Regions from separate parts of the Homo sapiens genome. Here all the other regions are linked to region 1. Evidence: promoter capture Hi-C in 16 types of primary human blood cells and fetal thymus (Javierre and others, 2016). All regions are on one chromosome and are shown on one strand. Each heading gives the region's core, a stretch centred on a gene start or on the middle of the fragment in contact. The rest is flanking DNA. Distances are from core to core; before and after follow the strand shown.

Region 1 (4,261 bases), core at 1,467-3,966:
GAAAGACACACAAACAAATGGGAAAAGAGGTCATGGGCAATTTAAAAAAATAGCTTTATTGAGGTATACTTTGACATGCCATAAAATTCACCCATTGTATGTGTACAATTCAATTACTTCATTTATACAACTGTTCAATTATCACCATATTCCAGCTTAATGGTCAATATTTGCTTTGTCATTTGATCTTTTCTCTATGGTAAGCAAAAATCTATTATTTGAAAGGTTCCTTCACTGAAAGCTGGGTGGAGTTGAACTCTAAAATTACCTACAAAATTACTTTCTATCTAGTCATCTATGTCTAATTCTTCAATTTGACACATGCATGTTACTAGCACAAGCTGCATTTTAAAGGCAGCAGGAAGGTCTTTTACTATCATTAGAAGTTAACTTTAAGGATTGAGCAGGCACGATACAGCATAGATTGTTTCGTGTGCTATATAGTAAGGTCAATATTCTTGCTCCTTCTACAAATAAAAAAAAGTTCCACAGAATAACAAGTACAGGTGGAGTTCCCAACGGAAATGCAGGTACTGAATACAACCAACTGCAACTGTTTCTCTGCTCCTCAATCCTGCTGGCGTAGTACGCGAGCTGCCGACGTCCCCCAACCCACCAGGTAAGCCGGCCGCTCCTGTCCCTAGGCTGTGAGGGGTTCAGAGGTAAGACCTTCGGTGTATTCACTTAGCTCCCTACGGAAAACTTCGAGAAGAAGGCGACTGAGATCGGTTAGCACTTAAATCCCTTTCAAAGCCCCGGCTCCCATCGCCCCTCCTATGGCCTCCTACCTGCAGAGAAGCAAAGCAGGTACACCCAGTGCCTTAGGCGGGCCAAGCCTAGCACTGTGGGAGCAAAAAACATGGCTTCATCGTCAGGGTGCGCTATGACCAGCAGGGTCCGGCTTTCGGCTCCCAGCCGTCCTCCCTGCTCCCGACTCTTCATTCGTTCTGAGGAGTCCCAAACCCAGAGGAAGCCCCATGCCAAGACCGCCAACGCCACACACAGGAGCCACATTGCTTCCATGATGGGTAAGCAGCACTGAGCCTGCGCAGTAGGAAAGGCTGCCTCTGACCCTGACTCCGGCTGGAAAACTTCACCGGGGAATGTTGGGTTCCGCTGTTAAGTCCCTCCCGCCGACATGCTCCGGAAGCTTGAGGTTTTAACGTTAAGGGTTCTCTTGTGTTTTAACACAGAAGTCTCCATGCCGTCCAGTTTCCTACCCTAGTCCTACCACACTGTACAATCGGTTTAAAAGGAAGCGTCTTATATATAAGCTCCCACTTATAGGAAGAGTTCCTTCCTCTTCATTTTCGAATTCATTTCTTAAAACTCGGGCCTTTCTCGTAATTATAGGGTTAGACAGCCCGTTATCCGTATGACAGTTTTCCAAAATAGCCAGTTACACCAACTTTGTTATTCCTTCTCACTTTTGGATGGCTTTCTTTACCTTTTTTTTTTTTTTTGAGAGGCTCTGTCGCCCAGGCTGGAGTGCAGTGGAGCGATCTCGGCTCACTGCAACCTCTGTCTCCCGGGTTCAAGCGACTCTTCTGCCTCAGCCTCCCGAGTAGCTGGGACTATAGGCGCGCGCCACCACGCCCAGCTAATTTTTGTATTTTTAGTAGAGAGGGGGTTTCACCATGTTAACTAGGCTGGTCTCGAACTCCTGACTTCGTGATCCGCTCGCCTCGGCCTCCCAAAGTGCTGGGATTACAGGCCTGAGCCACCGCGCCCGGCCCTTTCTTTTTTTTTTTTGAAACGGTCTGGCTCCGTCGCCCAGGCTGGAGTGCAGTGGCGCGACCTAGGTTCGCTGCTACCTCAGCCTCCCGCGTTCAAGCAATTCTCCCACTTCGGTCTCCCCAGTAGCTGGGATTACTGGCGCGCGCCACCACGCCCGCTTAATTTTTGTATTTTTAGTAGTGACGGGGTTTCTCCATGTTCGTCAGGCTGGTCTCGAACTCCTGACCTTAAGTGATGGCCCGCCTCGGCCTCCCTAAGTGCTGGGATTACAAGCGTGACCCACTGCGTCCGGTCGGGCCTGGCTTTTCTAAAGGAACGTATGCGTGCGGTTACGAGGAACCGTCGTTTCCCCAGCAGGGTGAGGCTGAGCGTGCACTTAACAGTCGCGAGGGCCACAGGCTCCTCTTGCAAGTAACTTAAGGTTAAGGAGCAACATCGTGGACAAATCGGCCTCGCCCAGCATTTCAGTGAGGGCTTGGTGCGAATTCCAGCCAGAGCCCTAGAAAGTATCTTGGGCAGGTCGAAATGCACCCCTCCAGCTCCCAGCCACGAGGGGACCGGCTTCCCTGTACGCAGCTCCGGCCAGAGGAGGCCGCCGCCGCCCCACCACGCCGCGGAGGGGTTTGCAGGGTCCCTTCCACGGCCTGGAGTTTTTCCTTTTCCCACGCCTGAGGAAGGCCTCGGGCGCGCGGAACAGACGGGCAGGCGGGGGGCGCACAAGCCCAGGGCACGATGGCAGCAGCGCTGGATCCGGCTGGGCGCTGCTCGGCCCCGTATCCGTCCGAGAGGACCGCCGCTGCCAGGCCTAGAGGAGACATGAAGAGACCGGGCGCAGCGCGACCCGGGAAGCTCCGCCGAGGTAGGAGAGGCGCCCGGCCAGCGGAGGGAGTTGGTCTCCCAACTCTCCGGAAGGAGGAGGAGCCGGCGCTGGAGCCGCCTTAGCCGCGGCTCCGCGGGCTGGGGGGAGGGAGAGGGGTTGAGTCAAGATGGCGGCCAAGGTGGCGAAGCAGCAGCCGCGGCGGCGGCGGCGGCTGGAGTGAGCGTCCGACTCGCCGCGCCGAACGAGGTCCCGGTGTAGGGCCGCGCGCCGTGGCCGCGTCCCACTCCTCAGGCCGGGGCGCACGTCGGCTCCCACGCTTAGCCAGCTCCCGGTGAGTAGGCCCTGGCGCCTGCAACCCCGGCCTCCGGGCTCCTGCTAGTCCGGGGGCTTCCGAGGGCTCCCGGGGCAGCAGCCGCTGGGACGGTTTCTCCGCCGGGCGGGGGGTGTCGCAGGCCTGGGCAGGTCGGGACCCGTCCTGGCCGCCTGGCCTCTTCCACTCGGCAGCCCAGGAGAGAGCCGGGCGCGGCGGGGAGCTCGGGCTGGGCTAGCGGAGGCTTATGGAGTTTGGAGGAAGAATGGGCTGTGGCCGGGCCGGGGCTGGCCCCGAGGTGTCCTGTGCGGAGGGGCGTGCGGAGCCTACAGGGCCTGCGAGGGAGAGCGGGCAGCCGGTGCCCCGGGTGGGGCCGGCGCAGGTGGCGGGCCTGGGCTCACTGAGGCGGAGTTGGTGGCCGACTTGGAAGTGTAGAAGGGGCTGCGGAGGTTGACAGCCATGGACAAGTGCGTGCAGAGTAAATTAGTTCACCTTTCTAACAGACCGCTTCAGGGTGTAATGGCGAAGGCTGGGTACTGGTGGAGATGGCAAAGATCCGAACACTATACCTTCTGCCGTTTATTGTTGGTGTTTTCTTAAGCGAAGTCCGTAAGTGCACCCCTTTTTGGGGAGAGAGGAATTTGAGAAACTGTAGTTGTGAAATCAGCCTTTATGGAGAGGAGACTGAATTCTTCAAATTAACTGGATCAGGAATAGTCATGTATTAAAGGAATGGATGGGAATAAGTGATATGGACGAAAACTATTTGCTCAGGAAGTGTCAGTTTTCTTTATGTGATGTTGCATGCTGCGGTGCCTCTTCCACAGAGTTAACCTTGGAGAGTAGTAGTATAGGTAATTCTAATCTTTGGGATTAGTATGTAAACCTGCATCAGATTTGCTTCTCTAATTATATCCTAATTATATTGAAATTTACATTCCTTGTGTGCACCCTGGTGAGGCAGTGATGGAAGGCTGAACATGGCACTGTGCAAGGAGCAACAGGCCCGGGATTTAAAAATGCCTACAAAGATTCATTCATTCGTTCAATATATCTTGATCAATAGCTGCTGATGCTGGGTCACATGTGATTGTCCTGTGGATAACTGAAGAGTTGATGGCATCGTTTAATTTTTAATAGCTTTTTAAAATGTTTTGATGTACCTTTTCATGAAGATATTTATTGGATGAACCAACTTGTACTTGCCCGGGCTCAGGAGCAGACCAATTTTAGAATGTTATTTAGACAAGGGTAACAATTACAGAAGAAGTAACCGCAAGTTACTGGAGAGAGAAATCTTGTATCTTTTTTTCTTTTTCTGTTAACATCCGGTGGAAGTTTATTTATTTGTTTTAATATTTATAGTACCCAGTTGCTTGGCCTTGCTTTAAGCA
Region 2 (4,103 bases), core at 908-3,407, 130 kb before region 1:
AAACTCCATCTCAAAAAAAATGAAAATAAAAAATAAAAGGTTGTGTTATTTTTTACCTTTATTTTTTGGAGGCCTATTTGGTATTGTGGAAACATTTTCAAATTCAGAGAATCAAAAAACAATAAAATCACCCAAATCCTGTCAACTAAAGGTAACCACTGTTAATATTTTGGTGTCTGTCTTTGTGTATTATTTTCTACTCTGAGAAATACATCTAAACCTATTGTCTTATGTTTATTAAGTAGAATTTTACCATTCTTTTTGTTGATAAACTGCTTATCTCATTTCCCAATGAAAAGCTTATATACTTATTTGTAACTTTAATTTTATTATTTTGGGGAATTTTTTGTACTTGGTACAAAATTTGAAAGGTAGAAGAAAATGTGTATATACACAGTGAAAAATCTTTCCCTACTGTCCCCATGCCCCAGTCTCCCTCTTCCCCACAGCCGATTTCCTGGTCTACTTACCCCATCACTGTCTCTGCATCATTGCAGTTGAGTCCCGTTTTTTTCTGATTATCAACAACACTGGTGAACCTCCTTGGTATACATTTTTGACAATTTAGAAATTTCTTCTTTAGGATCAATTCTCTTAGAAATAAGTTCTCTGGCTATTCTGGGCACACTTCCTACACCCTGCTCTACAAGGAGCAGTTAAAAAAAAAGAGAGAAAGAAAATCTCCAGGTTAAAGAATACAGATTTTTTAAAAAAGACTTTTAGCACATTATGGGTAATGTGGGGTTGGGCGGGGCTTTAATTCCATCCAGATAATGCTGGATGGCTTGGGACCACTTGGCAGTCCTTCGCTGCTTTTCTGTGCTGCAGTGGCTATGGAGTGAGCAAGGCTCCTCAGGGAGCTATTTCTATAGGAAGCACAATTCTGGACGGTATGGCTGGGGAAGCGTAAAGAGGGTTAACAAGGATAAGAAACCTCCACCCCTTCCCCTTCAGCTGTCTGATTTCTCTCCCTAAAGGTAAGCCACTGTTTCTTGGATCCCTCTTCAAAGATACATATGCATATAAAAGCACATACAGGCCAGGCACAGTAGCTCATGCCTGTAGTCCCAGCACTTTGGAAGGCCAAGGCAGGCAGATCACTTGAGCCCAGGAGTTCAACACCAGCCTGGACAACATAGCGAGACCCCCATGTCTACAAAAAATAAAAAATCGGCTAGGTGTGGTGTTGCATGCCTATAGTCCCAGGTACTCGGGAGGCTGAGGTGGGAGAATCACTTGATCCTGGGAGGTCAAGGCTGCAGTAAGCTGTCGTCATACCACTGCACTCCAGCCTGGATAACAGAGTGAGATCTTGTCTCAAAAAAACAAAACAAAACAAAACAAAAACACCACACATACCAGTATATAGCCTTAAAAAAAAAAAAAGAAATGGTAGCATACCACGTACGTTGTTTTATACCTTGCTTAACTTTTTTTTTGAGACAGTCTCACTCTGTTGCCCAGGCTGGAGTGCAGTGGTGTGATCTCGGCTCACTGTAACCTCCGCCTCCCAGGCTCAAGTGATTCTCCTGCTTCAGCCTCCTGAGTAGCTGGGACTACAGGTGCCCGCCACCACATCTGGCTAATTTTTACATTTTTAGTACAGACAGGGTTTCACCATGTTGGCCAGGCTGGTCTTGAACTCCTGACCTCAAGTGATCTGCCCACCTTGGCCTCCCAAAGTGCTGGGATTACAGGCGTGAGCCACTGCGCCTGGCCTATACCTTGCTTTACTTTGTAACTTTGGCAATTGTTCCATGTTAGTTTTGTAGAGCTGTCTCATTCTTCTCAAAAGTTGGAGAATATTTCATTTTATGAGTGTCCATAATGCCTAACCGGTCCTCTATTGAGGGACATTTTCAATTTTTCCAATCTTTAGCCTTCATAAACAGTGCTATAGTATCTATATACCTATGTCATTGAGACATTTGGAATATATCTGTATAATAAATTTCAAGAAATGGAATTGTGTGCTAAAGCATATGTACACTTTAAAATTTTGGTAGATGTTGCTAAATTGTACCAATTCCTGTTCCTGTGACTGATATATGTGAGCACATATTTCTCTACATACTTGTCAATACCATGTTAACGGCTTTGATTTTGCCCACCTGACAGTGAAATACATCTCATTGAAGTTCCTTTGGTGAGCATTTCATAGGCTAAAGAGTGATTTATTTTTCTTTCTATCTGAACTGTCCGTTCATGTCCTTTGTCCAGTCTCCCGTTTGTATTATCCATTAAGGAAATTAGCCTGTCTATGACGTCTGGCAAATATTTTTTTCCTGGTTTGTCCTTTGTGGATAAATTAAGCACAGCCATCAGTTTTCTTAAGACCTTGAGCCGTTCTGTTTGGGGACATGGAGAGCCAGTCCCTTGGGTGAACTGTCTCTCCACATAGGCCCTGGGAAGCAAGCACTTTCCCTCCCTGATGTGATGTATCAGGGAAGGCTCAAGGCTGAATTCTGTATGCCGTTGACCTAAGGGAAGCTGTGAGCTGTCACGCTCCAGACTGACATGTCTCTGGATAGTGTAGATGGGTCTCTGTCCTCAAGAAGGTCCCAGTCTCTTCTGGAGATAGGAAATGGCCTCTTAGTACAAAGAGCCCTACAGAAGAGCTCCTGCCATTAAGTTATTTCAAGATTTTTTTTTTTAATGGTGCGATCTCAGCCCACTGCAGCCTCTACTTCCCCAGGCTCAACTGATGCTCCTACCTCAGCCTCCCAGGTAGCTGGGACTACAGATGTGTGCCACTGCACCTGGCTAATTTTTATATTTTTTTGTAGAAACAGGGTTTTGCCATGTTGCCCAGGTTGGTCTTGAACTCCTGGGCTCAAGCAATCCGCCTGCCTCGGCCTCAAAGTGTTGGGATTACAGGCATGAGCCACCATGCCTGGCCAAAGGTGTTTTTTTTTTTTTTTTTTTTGAGACGGAGTCTCGCTCTGTTGCCCAGGCTGGAGTGCCGTGGCATGATCTCGGCTCACTGCAAGCTCGGCCTTCCAGGTTCATGCCATTCTCCTGCCTCAGCCTCCCGAGTAGCTGGGACTACAGGCGCCTGCCACCACACCCGGCTACAAAGGTGTATTTTTTAAGTGACATAAAAATAAATGTCTTTGGGGCCAGGCGCAGTGGCTCACACCTGTAATCCCAGCACTTTGGGAGGCCAAGGTGGGTGAATCATGAGGTCAGGAGTTCGAGACCAACCTGGCCAACATGGTGAAACCCTGTCTGTACTAAAAATACAAAAAATTAGCTGGGCATGGGGGCACGCGCCTATAATCCCAGCTACTTGGGAGGCTGAGGCAGGAAAATCTCTTGAACCCATGCAGGTGGAGGTTGCAGTGAGCCAAGATTGCGCCACTGCACTCCAGCCTGAGAGACAGTGGGAGACTCTGTCTCAATAAATAAATAAATAAATAAATTAAATAAATAAATCTCTTTGTAAAAAAGAATACCGTTTGTCTGTTTTCACCTAGGGAGCTGAGCACATAACGACTTACACGTTCAATACTCACAAAGCCCAGCATACCTTCTGTAAGAGATGTGGCGTTCAGAGCTTCTATACTCCACGATCAAACCCCGGAGGCTTCGGTGAGTAAAGGGGATGGACTGCAAGCTCAGGGGGACACAGAGAGGCCCATGGTGCTCTCATTTAAAGTCTTATTTGGACAGGTGGGATGCTGACTAGACCCTGTCACATGCGTATCTTAGAGGAACAGGGCTCCTCAGCAGAGCGCTTTCCACATGATAGAATGTGAGTCGGGCTCCGGTGAAACTTTTCTGAATCCCATATCTGAATGTGGTGAAGTTGGACTTGGAGCCCATCCAGGTTGTGATTCTTATTCACTGGTGCTGGTAGAGCTGGTGTTGCTGGGGATGGTGTTGAAGGGTAGGGAGGAGAGGGGTGAGGAGATGGGCTTGTGGGGCCAGGGGAGGCAGCTTTAATAATGACAGGGGTTAAGGGAGTGAAGGAGGCAAGATTGGGGAGCATTGATAATGGCATTTGAAAGCTTTTTGGTTGTTCAAAAATTAGGCAGGACTGGCTGGCTGCGGTGGCTCACACCTGTATCCCAGCACTTTGGGAGGCCAAGGTGGGAGGATTT
Region 3 (4,104 bases), core at 917-3,416, 140 kb after region 1:
TTCAGTCTCACCCATATTCAAAGTGTGTACCACGTCACTCCTTGACTGATTTTTCCATCACCCTGGATATAACTGCAAACCCCTACCTTAGCTTTATAACCCCTCCAGGAGCTGCTTTCAGCTTAGCTCTTCACATTTTTCCCTTCTCACTTTTCCCTTTAGTCCCCTATATTTACCTCCCCCACACTCTTCCTCCCAACTCCACTCTACACATTAGCCGGTTACCACGCTTACGTTCTTTTATTGTACCTTTCTCTGTCTCACCTTGGGGTCTTCGTGTTCACTGTTCACACTGCCTGTACTTTTTCCTCCTATTACCTTTGACTTGAACAACTCTTATTCATCCTTCATTCTCAGCTTACACATTGCTTCCTCTGAGCAGGCTTATCTGAACCTGGAGGTGTTAGGTTTCTCTCCTAGCATTTTCATAGCACATTATACTTCTCCTTTCATAGCTTATTTTACTACATAATCTGTACCTACATTATTGTGTAAGTTTCATGCAGAAAGGGACTTAATTTGTTAATCTTACCTGCAAGCCTAGCTTATGCCTAGCACACAGTAGGCATCAATAAACACATTTGAATGAGTGAAAATATTTTCATGAATCATCTACACATATTTTATTGTAGGTTAAGACAAGTTTTAATATTATTATTTTTATAAGATAGACTATGAAACTAACCTATTTACTGTACATTGTATACCATGTGCTCCGTCTGAGCAAGTCTTGTTTGTGTATTCTGTAGATATTAAGAATGCCCGAGAAGGGACTAGGAGTCCAAGAACAGCTCATGAAATCAGTTTAAAGAGAAGCTATGAATCAGTGGAAGGAAATATAAAGCAAGGGATGTCAATGAGGGAGTCTCCTGTATCAGCACCGTTAGAGGGTAAAGCATTGTTTTCAGAATGTTATTTTGATACATGTTATTTTATATAGTAATTTTGCATTGTTGAATTAAGTTGTATGCAATTTCTGTCATTTCCACCTGAAATGTATATTTATATTAAGTTGTATGCAATTTCTGTCATTTCCACCTGAAATATATATTTATATTAAGTTTATATCTGTATATAAAGTGGCACATAACAATGGAAGGAAGTCAAATTTAAGCGTAATTGGTCATATCATAGGTTACTATTAGAATGTTCATATTTGAATGCTCATACAATTTGCAGATTATTCCTGTTTCAGCTAAGTGAGTTAAAAAAGGTAAAGTTTATTATGAGAACTTCTTTTTGAATTGTGAGACAGATAAAGTGGTGTAATGGATAAAGACATGAATTTAAATTTCAGCTTCACCCTTCCCTGGTAAAATTCCTTTGAGCCTGTTTCTTCCTCTGTAAATTAAGGGATCGTACCTAACACTGTGTGAGGGTTAGAGGCAGGTGTCTGAACTGGTGCTGCTCATGTGATATGGCTTCAGTACATGATCAGTATGATTTTGTTTTGTTAATGGCCCACTTTGTTTAAATCTTAACCTGCCTCAACCAATTTTAAGCTAGATGAAATACTAAAAGCAGGGTAAGTCCTGTGTAATTTTCTAAGAGCTGTATTTTTCTCTATGTTAAAAACACACACTTTTACTGTAAATATGTGTGGTTATTTCTAACCCTTGATTTATATTTATCAGCAACAATAATGTGAAGCTTCTTAGGAGGTTATTTACAACTCTTTCGTTTCAATTTGCATGTTTCATTTAATACATTTTCCCTATTTTTATGGTATCCATATTTCCCGTTTTCCCTTTATCACAAGTATATTTCAAAGCTAAGCAATGGTTTCCAATCCTGTATCTTCTTTCCTCTTGATAAAGAAGTGTTGGGATTTTAGATTTAACTTTGAAGGTATCTTTCCTTTTCAACCTTTCATTAGATGCCTTTGGTGGCCATTTTTTATTTAGGAAAATATTTACAAAGGACTGTGTGATGTCATATTAGGTACTTCTGGATAGTTCACAAACTTAAATTGACATTCCTTCCTTCATAGAGCATTTATCAAAAACATAGACTTTAAGAACAGCATTCAGTATATGTGAGTTGACATATACATTATGTTGAATAATTGAATTGCTTTCTTGTTTTGGAAGGGCTGATATGCCGAGCATTACCCAGGGGGAGTCCTCATTCTGACCTCAAAGAAAGGACTGTATTGTCTGGCTCCATAATGCAGGGTAAACTTTCTGCTTGTTTTGCATTTTTATTTATAACTGCCTCCCTGGCAAAATAGTTTGACATTAATTTACAGTGTATTTCTGCTTTTCAAGTTATTTTCCCTTTTGAAATATTAAAGTCTTGGTTATTACTTTTCTGCCTCTGAGCTACATAATTTATTGGAAGATGATAGTTGCTTAATCTTTTAATATAGAGATATCTTTATTATGCAAGAACCATTCTGTGACTATTATGAATGATGCATTAATATCATATCTCAAGCAACCCTAAAGAAATAATGATTGATAAATACTGATTTGAGGATCTACTGTAAACAGAAAGTTAATTAGAAACTACAAGATGTCAAGGCATTATTTTAAATTATGTTAAAATATATGTAACAAAATTTACCATTTTAACCATTTTTAAGTGCACAGTTCCGTGGCATTGTTGTGCAACCATCAGCATTATTTTAATGTTTCCTGAATTCTTTTTCAAGGGACACCAAGAGCAACAACTGAAAGCTTTGAAGATGGCCTTAAATATCCCAAACAAATTAAAAGGGAAAGTCCTCCCATACGAGCATTTGAAGGTGCCATTACCAAAGGAAAACCATATGATGGCATCACCACCATCAAAGAAATGGGGCGTTCCATTCATGAGATTCCAAGGCAAGATATTTTAACTCAGGAAAGTCGGAAAACTCCAGAAGTGGTCCAGAGCACACGGCCGATAATTGAGGGTTCCATTTCCCAGGTAACTAAGTTTTGGCTCTTTTTGTCAGTAACTGATATTTATGGAACATTTAAAAAAGTGTGACTTAATAATTATAAGTGGTTCTTATGATGTCAGACCTCCTGGAAGTAAACATGAAAGTTTCCTGTACCTTTTTTTTTTTTCCTCTGTGGACCAGGCTGGAGTGCGGTGTGTGATCACAGCTCACTATATAGCCTTGACCTCCTGGGCTCAAGCGATCCTCCCACCTCAGCCTCCCGAGTAGCTAGGACTACAGGCATGTACCTCCACACCCAGAATTTTTGTATTTTTATAGAGACAGGGCTTTGCCATGTTGCCAAGGCTGGTCTCGAACTCCTGAGCTCAAGTGATCTGCCCATCTCAGCATCCCAAAGTGCTGGGATCACAGGCGTGAGCCACTGTGCTTGGCCTTTGTGTAATGGCACGATCTTGGCTCACTGCAACGTCCGCCTCCTGGGTTCAAGCGATTCTCCTGCCCCAGCCTCCCGAGTAGCTGAGATTACAGGTACCTGCCACCACGCCTGGCTAATTTTGTATTTTTAGGAGAGACAGGGTTTCTCCATGTTGGTCAGGCTGGTTTCGAACTCCTGACCTCAGGTGATCTGCCCACCTCAGCCTCCCAAAGCGCTGGGATTACAGGTGTGAACCACCATGCCTGGCCTTGTGTACTTCTTATCATCAGGTTTTCTTATGTCTATAGCATAGAGTGTGGAATGTGGGAAAGTATGCAGCTTGGGATCAGTGGGGTTGTGATTGAGATTTGTAAACAGACCAAAAAAGATCACCACAGTGAACTGTAACTGCCATGGGCCAGACATAGACCTGAGATAGAAAAGTAGCCAGATGACTTTGCTACCTGTAATGTTTGTTTCTTTCCCTTTAGGGCACACCAATAAAGTTTGACAACAACTCAGGTCAATCTGCCATCAAACACAATGTCAAATCCTTAATCACGGGGCCTAGCAAACTATCCCGTGGAATGCCTCCGCTGGAAATTGTGCCAGAGAACATAAAAGTGGTAGAACGGGGAAAATATGAGGATGTGAAAGCAGGCGAGACCGTGCGTTCCCGGCACACGTCAGTGGTAAGCTCTGGCCCCTCCGTTCTTAGGTCCACACTGCATGAAGCTCCCAAAGCACAACTGAGCCCTGGGATTTATGATGACACCAGTGCACGGAGGACCCCTGTGAGTTA

Evidence for each region. The method cuts DNA at HindIII sites, captures the fragments that hold promoters and counts their contacts. A CHiCAGO score of 5 or more calls a contact.
Region 2: a contact is called between a fragment that was not itself captured here and the fragment with the promoter of NCOR1 in region 1, in 11 of 17 cell types (M2 macrophages, M0 macrophages, total B cells and 8 more). The highest score is 12.8, in M2 macrophages.
Region 3: a contact is called between a fragment that was not itself captured here and the fragment with the promoter of NCOR1 in region 1, in 1 of 17 cell types (endothelial precursors). The highest score is 7.1, in endothelial precursors.

What each region holds. Positions count from the first base shown.
Region 1 is chr17:16,213,989-16,218,249 of GRCh38, reverse strand. NCOR1 (nuclear receptor corepressor 1) reads left to right here and starts at 2,716. Exons shown (of 46, transcript NM_006311.4): 1 at 2,716-2,888. It overlaps PIGL (phosphatidylinositol glycan anchor biosynthesis class L), which reads right to left and starts at 1,040. Exons shown (of 7, transcript NM_004278.4): 1 at 789-1,040. The coding sequence starts at 1,023. RefSeq lists enhancers at 1,015-1,264, 2,451-2,510, 2,088-3,003, 3,004-3,920 and a silencer at 2,781-3,250. The HindIII fragment of the contact is 4,024 bases long and covers 1,153-4,261 here.
Region 2 is chr17:16,344,085-16,348,187 of GRCh38, reverse strand. It overlaps CENPV (centromere protein V), which reads left to right. Exons shown (of 5, transcript NM_181716.3): 4 at 3,477-3,591. Among named protein-coding and RNA genes, the nearest start is that of CENPV, 7.3 kb to the left of the region's middle. The HindIII fragment of the contact is 3,711 bases long and covers 302-4,012 here.
Region 3 is chr17:16,070,215-16,074,318 of GRCh38, reverse strand. It overlaps NCOR1 (nuclear receptor corepressor 1), which reads left to right. Exons shown (of 46, transcript NM_006311.4): 28 at 750-890; 29 at 2,091-2,174; 30 at 2,654-2,910; 31 at 3,794-4,104. Among named protein-coding and RNA genes, the nearest start is that of TTC19, 72 kb to the right of the region's middle. The HindIII fragment of the contact is 1,028 bases long and covers 1,653-2,680 here.